Regions from separate parts of the Homo sapiens genome. Here regions 1 and 3 are each linked to region 2. Evidence: promoter capture Hi-C in 16 types of primary human blood cells and fetal thymus (Javierre and others, 2016). All regions are on one chromosome and are shown on one strand. Each heading gives the region's core, a stretch centred on a gene start or on the middle of the fragment in contact. The rest is flanking DNA. Distances are from core to core; before and after follow the strand shown.

Region 1 (3,211 bases), core at 29-2,528, 35 kb after region 2:
AGTCCTAATTTGTTGAGATTGTTTTAAATTATAAATGTGTTTTAAATTCTGCCCAGCGTTATTTCTGGAGTAATCAAGAGGCACATTTGATGTTTCTCTTTTATTCTGGTAGCGTGGTGAATTACATTTATTTTTGGATGTGAAACCCCACTTGGTCATCATGTATTACGTCAATTTTATTTGTTGGATTGGATTTACTTATATTTAAATGAAGACTTTTCTATGTTCATGAGGTGCAGTGATCTGCAGTTTTCTTTTCTTGTAACGTCCTCATGAAGCTTTGGTATCAGGTTTGAATTTTGCCTCATGAAATGAGTGTTTTCTCCTTCTCTATTTACTGAGGGAGTCTGGGAAAGTTTGATATTATTTCTCCTTTAAATGTTTCGTAGAATTCCACATACAGTGCCATCATGATTAATTAATTACCTATGATTGAGTGGCTATTAAGCAAATGCCTTGAAGGATCGAATGGCGATGCTATTCACTGCTGTGTGAGCATTAATGACCACAAAGACTGTGTGGTAAACTCTCTGCTCCTAACTCTGCTGGAAAACCTGCAAAGGGCAAGTGCCAAGCTCAGGTCTTACCTTGTAGGTCAAGTTATGGTTGTAAACTACAGAAATGCCTTATGACTTCAAACAATTTCATGTCATTTGACTATGGGGACAATCTTGCAAAAAAAAAAAAATCAGACCCCAAATTTAATTGTATTTATTGAAGAATTACGACATAATTTGAATTTAAAGATTTGTCTGCGCTTCTTATAGGAAATTTAGGGCAGTTATTGGAAAGGACTGAGGGGCTTGGGCTTGGAAAGGGGTCTTGCATGAAGATCAAGTACCCAAGAACATGTGGATGACCCCTATGCATGGTCTTTGGATAAAGTCGAAAATCTTCAACCCCCTTGCCCCAAGACTTTTTGAAACTCTCTTGATACCAGAATATAGCCTGATTTCCTTGGTCTGGAGAGATTAGTCTTTCCTTACTGGAAGACTCTAATAATTCTGCTTGGAGAGATTGCCCAAGCACAGGAAGGTGCTGAGTCTCTTCAAAACTCATCCCAATCACTATTCATTCCAGACCAAGAATAAAATGCAAGTCTCTTCCATGGGGTAAATGCAATGCCCGACCCTTGAGAAGATCTTACATTCTAAAGGAATTATTGGATTCTCTGATTTATATCAGCAGACACCTGAGAAATATATGTTAAAGTGGACACTAGGAATCTTAGACCAACAAAGATAAAATATTACACTGGCTTAGCCAAATATATTGATACGGGTGTACTAACAAAAGATTACAGATACAATGTTTTGGCTCAAGAAGCTCTCAGGTGGATGAAGGAATTTGCTTTATGTTTGATTGAAACAATATTATCACTATATTCCAATGAAAATGGACTCAACAATGACCCAAATTTAACGAGGATGATGTCAGAACTTTCTTGGCATAATGGAGAAAAAATAACCCAAAGGTTTAGAGAGTTAAAAATGTTGGAAAATAAAAAATGACAAAAGTTCAACCTGTACCCTCATCTCCTCTGCTCTTACCCCTCAAGTAGTATACTGGTAAAGACAGCACAAGTGTCCATGAAAAGCTCTGTGAAGACTAACCTGGTTCAGCCTATTTTTTTTCACCTTATATATTCTGAAGCCATTCTTTGCCTATTTTTGCCTTACATATTCTGAAGCTATTTTATCATGTGCAGGTAAATTTCTAATGTATCTTCCTAGTATATTGAATATTTAATCCTTAAAAAATTGGCCCTTTTATCTCCATTAACACTTTGTTTGGTAAAAGATATATTTTCTGATATTGACATACTTATGATGGTCAGTTTAATGTGCCAATGTTTCTAGGTTATAGTCCCCAGAACATTCAATGAAACGTTAATCTAGGTGTTGCTGTGAAGGTGCTTTGTACACAGGATTAAGATTTATGATCAGTTTATTGGGGATGACAGAAAGAAATACTGCAACGGATATAATCACACTGCTTTCAATCAGGATGATGGAATTGTCAAAGGCAATGTGTCATTACTTAATCCCTAGAGATAAGTTGAGCACATTAGCTTTAAAGAGGATCAGAGATAAAATGGGAGGTCATCCTACCCCTACCAAAGAAGCTCAATTCTTGATAGTCACCTTTGGATTTTGGAGGAAATGTACAACTATGATTGGATGCTCTAACCCACTTACTACGTAAATCTTAAGACTTCCAGTTTGGAGTTGTTCTCAGTTCAAGGAAAGGCTCTGCAGCAGGTCCAGGCTGTAGTATAAGAAGCTTTACAACTTGAGGTTTATAACTCAAGATTAAATTATACTTGAATTATCTGGAATAATTAAGAATGTCGGTGTGCCCCAGAGTGAAGACCCCTAGGACTTTTGTTGCAAAGCCATGCTCTGTTTTTGAGAACATGATGGATCTCTTGAGAAAGAGCTTCTGACTTATTACCAGGCCTTGGTAGAGACTGATACCCTTACTATGGGATATGAAGCGAATATATAATACAAACTGCCCATCATGAAGTAGGTGCTCTGTGACCCATCAAGCTAAAAGGTTGGGCATGTGAAGCAATAATCCATTATGAAGTGAATTTGGATATGATATAACTGACTTCAAGATGGGCTTCAAGAAGTCCAGAAATCACAACCAAGTGACATGAGCAGGTGACCCAGATTCCTACAACTCCTCCTGGGATATTGCCTTATTTTTTCATGAAATCACATGTGTGACCTCATGGGCAGTTCTTTATGGCCATTGCTTGAGGAGGAAAACATTTCATCTTGGTTTTCAAGTGGTTCTGCTCAATCAACTGGCACAGCAAGGAGTGGACTTTTGCATCATGACAAACTCAACCACAGTGAACCTGAGAGCGGGACTGAAGGAACTCCCCCTAGTGGCAGAATTTCATAAATACATTTGGCTTTTCATTTTGAGACTGAGAGGTCAGAAGGACAGATACAAACTGAACCATGCCTACAGCGTTAGGTAACACATTTTTTCCCAGAAATTTGTCCATTTTCTATAAGTATTCAAAACTTTTCATACAGCTTACTACTTTCTGCTTATTTTGCATTAGATTAAGTAATGTTTTCTCCCTTATATTCCTGCATACTAGTTATTTTTGCCTTCTATATTTCTGGACTAATTGCAACTGAGGTTTGCCCATTTTATTATTTGTATCAAAAACTAGCTGTTCGTGATGTTG
Region 2 (3,399 bases), core at 1-2,500:
ATCCCTGTTTTTAGAAACAGCCTGACCCTCCAACAACAAAGTGTCAACCTAAATAACAAACAGAGAGAAGCTCTCTAAAAGAAAATGATATGTATTCAGGAATGGGGCATTGCAATGGGAATCTGGGTGCTATAGTAAACTACGTGCATATTCAGGGAGGTAAAAGAACACAAAGGGTTTTCAATGGAAAAATGAGGAGGACCCCATAAATGGTTTGAGATAATTACCCTAGGCTACAAGGATCCCTAATGAGGGTGACGTCAGTCCAAGTTTGGACCGGAGGTTGCTGTCCAAATACTTGTCACAGAAGTATTTTTTTGGTGGAAGGAAGCAATGGCTTTTGTGCAAGACTATGGTTTCTGCAGCGTCTTCTGTGAAAATTTTTGTTGTCAGAGAGCCCTCGCTTCACAGCCTTCCCCACTGTATTTCTCAGGGATTTTTTTGGCTTGTGAGCACTTTCACAAAGGGATCTGGTTATACACACACTGGTTCAGGTCTAGAAGAGCATTCCCTGCAGCCATTCACAATGGTCATGGGAGGAATATTTAGTGACATAGAGAAATAGTCCACTGTTGAGGAGGAAAGCAGCCAGTTGTAAAACAGCCCCAGGCAGTCTAAAAGTTGGGCCCTACACCGGGCACGGTGGCTCACACCTGTAATCTCAGCACTTTGGGAGGCCGAGGTGGGCGGATAACGAGGTCAAGAGATCAAGACCATCCTGGCCAGCATGATGTAACCCCGTCTCTACTAAAAACACAAAAATTAGCTGGGTGTGGTGGCACGAGCCTGTAGTCCCAGCTACTCGGGAGGCTGAGGCAGGTGAATCACTTGGACCCGGAAGACGAGGTTGCGGTGAGCCAAGATCATGCCATTGCACTCCAGCCTGGTGACAGAGCGAGACTCCGTGAAAAAAAAAAAAAAAAAAAAAAAGCTGGGCCCTGCATAGGAAAACCAAACCAAATGGAAACAGGACATACAGTTGAGGAGTTTGATGTCCTATCTTTGAGGCACTTGGCTGTATTTTCTGGTTTTCTTTGTTTTCCCAACAGTGAGCCTGTGTTTTTCCGTTTTTTCATGACCAGAGAAAAAAATGTAAATTATTATAAAAATAAGTAAATAAATAATGAACTAAAGGCAACATAAAGCCATAAAGATAAGGTTGGGCTCTCAAGAGCCGTCTTCCCCAGGCCCCACCCCTGCTGGTCAGAGTGCACCCTGGGGAGGAAAGGCCGCCCTGAAGGCTGGGAGACGAGACCGGCAGCCTCTGTGCCAGGAGACACAGGTCTTGGAGGGAGCAGAGGAGGTGGCTGTGTCTCTGGAGGGACCCCTCCTCCTGGAGGACCCCAGGCAGCTCATGGACCTTTCCAGACCCAGATGGAGCCTGTGGAGGAGGGTCTTCCTCATGGGTAAGAGATGCTGGATGCTGGATGAGCTTCCCAGGACTGAGGGAAGGGCAGCTAGGAGCAAAGCGGCGGGGAGGGGGCTGGGACCATCCCCATCCACGGGCACATCAAGAAACTCCCAGAGCAGGGGTCGGGGAGAGGAGAAGGGGGAGGACCCTCAGCACAACTTTCATGAGCTCACACACGTGGGCACACTTTGCCCCTAGACACACCCCTGCACAGACCCACACATGTGGTGTTACACACACACGCACACGCACATGCACACACACACACGCGCGCACACACAGAGAGAGAGAGAGAGAAACTGTGTTTCTATCTACGCCCAGGAATCAGGAGCTTGGACCTTCACCCTCACCTCCCTGCACTCACCTCCCACTGGGTGCCCCAATCTGCCCCATCCCCTCCCCCACCTCTCAGGCCAGATTCCTTCCCAGCCCCTCACCTTTGCCCAGGACCTTCTGTGCCCCCTACAAGCACAACTGTCCTGCTTTACCACGTGTACTGTCCTTGAACAGGTCCAGTGTGTCCATACGTGAGGCCTAGAGCCGGGGTCTCAGGCATCTCTGCCTCCTCCACATAGCCCAGGCTTGGGGTTCACAGGGCAGTGGACAACTGCCCATGTCATATGTGGTAACAGGCTGCCGCCTCCATTCACACCCACTCCAGTGAATTTAGATGCAAAATCAAAGACATGTAGAAATTCTCGGGGGAGTATTTCTCACCCAGACAATCATTACTGAACTCCCCCTGTGTCCAGCCTGTGCTCAGGGGCGCTGGGGACTCAGTGGTGACTGAGACAGGGCAGTCCTGCCCTCCTGGAGCCCACAGTCCAGGGCGAGATATAGATATGTGCCCAGACTCTGAGGACCCCCAGAGGTCATGGCTGGGATGGGGGGAGCCCAGGAGGAGCTGGGGGAGCCCAGAGGGGACACCTGACCCAGGCTGGGGTGGAGGAGACATCCAAGCTGAGACCTGAGTGATGAATAGAAGTGAGTCAGCAAGGAGGGTGCAGATGGAGAGGAGGGAGAAGGAGTCCCTGCCGGGAATGGGGAACAGCGTGTGCGAAGCCTGGAGTTAGGAGAAGGTGTGGTGCACCAAGAGAGCTATGTAGAGGCCTGGGGCATACAGCGTGGCAGTCATGTCTTCTGATAAATAACTACAGGAATAAATGAGTAAAAGGTGCATAGTGGGGACAGGATGGGGTAGGTGTGCACCACAAGGAGGCTCGATGAGTCACAAACACCAGCTCTGGCTGAGAGTGTTTCATATACCCACCTAAGAGTTTGGACTGTATCCTAAGAGCACTGGGGAGCCATGGAAGGTGTTTGAGCAGAGGAGAACAGGGTCGCAACTTGGGCTTATTAACATTTACGTAACTGTGATGTGAGGATGGATTGGAGGCTGTGTGGCTAGCGAGGAGGGCCTGGGAGAAGATAAGGGTAAAATGGACCACGGCAGGGGCTGAGGGGAGGCACAGGAGGGGACAAGCTGGGGACTCTACCAGGAGCCAGAAACTCTTGCCTGGTTCACCAGCGTCTCTGGGAATCGTTCCCGGATGGTGTCTTTTTTCCTTGTCTTCTCAGCCAGTCTGAATCTCTTTGTGAATTTCTCTCTGTCTTTTTTCCTTGTCTTCTTCAGCCAGTCTGCTGGCCTGTGGGATCTGCCAGGCCTCTGGCCAAATCTTCATCACCCAAACCCTGGGGATCAAGGGATATCGGACTGTCGTGGCCCTGGATAAGGTCCCTGAGGATGTTCAGGAATACAGCTGGTACTGGGGTGCAAACGACAGCGCAGGAAACATGATTATCAGCCACAAACCGCCCAGTGCCCAGCAGCCTGGGCCCATGTACACTGGCAGGGAGAGAGTGAACAGAGAAGGCAGCCTGTTGATCAGGCCGACTGCATTAAATGACACGGGAAACTACACTGTTCGGGTGGTTGCAGGCAATGAGACCCAAAGAGCAACCGGCTGGCTGGAGGTTCTAGGTGGGTT
Region 3 (3,194 bases), core at 107-2,606, 61 kb before region 2:
CCCCAGCCCGACGGCCCTCAGTACCTGGCGTGTTGTCACGTGAAATGCTGATAACAAGGTCTCTGGGGGCATCTGCAACAAGATTGTGAGCTGGCTTCAGGGAGGGACAATTTATTCCTCACACCTGGAAAAAACTCCCTCAGGGAAAAGAAAGTGGGACTATCCCGGGAAGACAAGTGACAACCAGCGCCAGGGCTCACGTGTGTGGACCAGACGCCATTCCCATCCCCCTCCCAGGGCTGCGGCGGCATCCTGGGACCCCACAGCTTCCTCTCCCTGGATGCTCCTGAGCTGGGAGCCGCTCACTGTCCCACTGGGCTCCTCCACCTCCCCACCCACCGGGGCTGTCTGCACACCCCACCCTCCCAGGCCACACTCACAGGCCACACGGAGTCGGACGGTCCTCTGTGCGCTCACACCCTTTCTGGAGAAGTCCACATGGCAGGTGAGGTCGGTGTTGTGGTCCTGGGGTCTGGGCGTGAAGCTGAGCACTGAGAAGTGGGAGGTCGTTGGTTTGGTTCCTTGGGAGGAGAGGGCAGCCCCCGTCCAGGAGAAAGAAGGGGGTGGACATTCCTCAAAGGCCCAGTTAAACACACAGATGACCGTCACCGGCTGCCCGGGCTCCAGGGTCTCGGGGATGTAGACATCAGGCTTCTGAGTCAGGGCTGGGACAGAGACCGTGGTGGGAGATTCTTGTGCTGCAGGGGTCCCTGAGAGCCCTCTCTGCTCAGCCCATAGGCTGTCCCCAGGGTCCCTCCCCAGTGTGAGAGGCAGGGGTTCCCACCCCATTCCATACCTGTTACTTTTAGAAAGAACCCATCGTTCATGAAATTATATCTCACATAGCTTCCTCTCTCCACCCGAAAGAAGTACTGTGACTCATCCTGCATCTGCGCGTCTCTGATCACCAAGGAGCAGTTCCCCTTGGCGGGATCCCCAGTGAGCTGGAATCGGCCCCGGGTGCTCATTTCCACCTCTCGACTCTGGTGGTTTGTGGCCACAGGAGCACCCTTGGTTGTCTCAGTCACTGCTTTGAACCAGTAGCCATAAGCTGGGGTAGACCCTGTCCAGTCCTGTCGGGGGTAGGAGAAAGAGCAGGGCACAGAGATGCACAGGCCCTCCGGCACCATCACTGACTCCTGCACTCGTATCCAGAATCTCCCATCCATAGCCTGGGACCCTGTGGGGAGACAGAGGCTCAACCTGCAACCCCAGCCCTAGCTCCGCCCCAGGTCCTTTCCGGCCCTTGGCCCACTCACCGCCCAGCAGCGAGGACAGCAGCAGTGGCAGTAGCATCTCCGCATAGGAGGCGCAGGGCCTGCCTGAGACAGGCCTGTTCTCTGGTCGTGCTGTGAGTGGCTCAGGGCTCTTGGCAGAAGGGGAAGCCGAAGGCGGAAGCTGAGCCCTGGGGCCTGATGCATGAAATGAGCTTCAGACGCTGAGCTCACAGAACTCCTTTGCCTTCCCCCACACTCTCCGGCCCACCTTGCCCAGTTGTCCTCTGGGTCTCCTGGGGGCCCAGCCTGGCCTTGGGCTTGTTGAGCTGGTCCTTCCAGAGCTCCCTGTGTAGGAGGAGAGGGCAGGCTTGTGTCTATCCTGGGGGCCTGGCTGGGGGTGGGGTAGTGGGGTGGGGGCTCTCCCTCTGGGCCCTGGGTCATCGGAAAAGCAGAAGTGAGAAGTCCACAGTGAGCTACCCTTATCTGGGCCACTGGTGGTGGAGGTGGTGGGTACAGGGGAAGGGACCGTTACTGGAGGGGGCTGGTCTTGTCAGGTAAAATGCAGGATGCCTGGTTAAAGCTTTCACAGACAATATAAAGTATTTTATTTTATGTTTTTTGGTATAAGTATGTCCGAAATGCTGCATGGGATATACTTATACCAGAAAGCAAAATAAATTTATCTGAAATTCAAATTAATTAATTAATTAATTATATTTTGAGACAGAGTCTCACTCTGTCACCCAGGCTGCAGTGCAGTGGTGCAATCTCTGCTTACTGCAACCTCCACCTCCCAGGCTGAAGTGATTCTCCTGCCTCAGCCTCCTGAGTCTGGGCTTACAGGCACGCGCCACCACGCCAAGCTAATTTTTGTATTTTTAGTAGAGGTGGGGTTTCACCATGTTGGCAGGGCTGGTTTTGAACTCCTGACCTCAAATGATCCACCTGCCTTGACCTCCCAAAGTGCTGAGATTACAGGTGTGAACCACCGCACCTGGCCTAAAATTCAAATTTAACTGAGCATGTTGAATTTCTTTTTTTCTAAATCTGGCCACCGTAGGGTGGTGTCAGCTCCACCTCTTCATGCTTCCTGGTGAGCTCACTGACCCTTGGTCCCCAGAAGCAGTCTCCTGCCCCAACCAGGCCCTAGTCCACTTCCCAGTCTCCCTTCCTCCTCTGTCATTCAATTGGGACACCCATTGGGATTAGAACACATATGTCCAAAGCTAATGCTGATGGGAAGAGTTTGAGGAAGGCGGGAGTGAGGGGCAGAGTGGGGGGAACAGACTAGGGAAGGGGTAATTTGCAATGAATGGAGTAAACTCTACAAGATGTTTTCCCCTCACTGAGCTCTTCCTGAAATGACTCTGTTTGGGTCACACCGAAACACAGAACTCATCCTTCAACCTCCACATACCTTGGGTATCAAGCACTGAGCTTTAGGGGGACTTGGAGGTGAATCCTCCATGGTGAGTCAGCTCCAGGGCCCCAGGTTAGCAAATGAAGATTCTTAGAAACAAAGTACAGAAGGTCCCCTAAATGAACTGGATGCTGGACAGACATTCAGGATGGGACCTGGGGAAGGAGTGGTCAGCTCTTCCTGGTGGAGGGAAGTCAGGAGAGGCCTCCTGGAGGAGATGACCCAGCCTCTGCCCTGTCCTGGTTCTTTCATCCATGGCATTTTTGTTTTTTGTTTTTGAGACAAGGTCTTGCTCTGTTGCCCAGGCTGGAGTGCAGTGGTGTGATCATGGCTCAGTGCAGCCTCCATCTTCTGGGCTCAAGCGATCCTCCCACCTCAGCCTCCCAACTAGCCGGGACTATAGGCACACACCACCACGCCCAGATAATTTTTGATTTTTTTTTTTGATAATTTTTGTAGAGACAGAGGTGTTTGTTTGTTTGTTTGTTTTTGTTTTTTGAGATGGAGTTTCCCTCTTGTTGCCCAGGCTGGAGTGCAGTAGCATGATCTTGGCTCAC

The links. The method cuts DNA at HindIII sites, captures the fragments that hold promoters and counts their contacts. A CHiCAGO score of 5 or more calls a contact.
Region 1: a contact is called between a fragment that was not itself captured here and the fragment with the promoter of CEACAM18 in region 2, in 8 of 17 cell types (megakaryocytes, monocytes, M2 macrophages and 5 more). The highest score is 14.5, in megakaryocytes.
Region 3: the fragment with the promoter of SIGLEC10 here is called in contact with the fragment with the promoter of CEACAM18 in region 2 in 4 of 17 cell types (activated CD4 T cells, non-activated CD4 T cells, naive CD8 T cells and 1 more); the score reaches 7.6 in activated CD4 T cells.

What each region holds. Positions count from the first base shown.
Region 1 is chr19:51,512,189-51,515,399 of GRCh38, forward strand. No RefSeq gene overlaps it. Among named protein-coding and RNA genes, the nearest start is that of SIGLEC12, 12 kb to the left of the region's middle. The HindIII fragment of the contact is 2,005 bases long and covers 277-2,281 here.
Region 2 is chr19:51,477,289-51,480,687 of GRCh38, forward strand. It overlaps CEACAM18 (CEA cell adhesion molecule 18), which reads left to right and starts at 1,251. Exons shown (of 6, transcript NM_001405061.1): 1 at 1,251-1,406; 2 at 3,045-3,392. The coding sequence starts at 1,355. The HindIII fragment of the contact is 9,749 bases long and covers 1-3,399 here.
Region 3 is chr19:51,416,286-51,419,479 of GRCh38, forward strand. SIGLEC10 (sialic acid binding Ig like lectin 10) reads right to left here and starts at 1,357. Exons shown (of 11, transcript NM_033130.5): 1 at 1,260-1,357; 2 at 797-1,180; 3 at 381-665; 4 at 25-72. The coding sequence starts at 1,296. SIGLEC10-AS1 (SIGLEC10 antisense RNA 1) reads left to right here. Exons shown (of 3, transcript NR_164125.1): 2 at 144-445; 3 at 847-1,912. RefSeq lists enhancers at 1,287-1,456, 1,517-1,586. The HindIII fragment of the contact is 3,908 bases long and covers 1-1,795 here.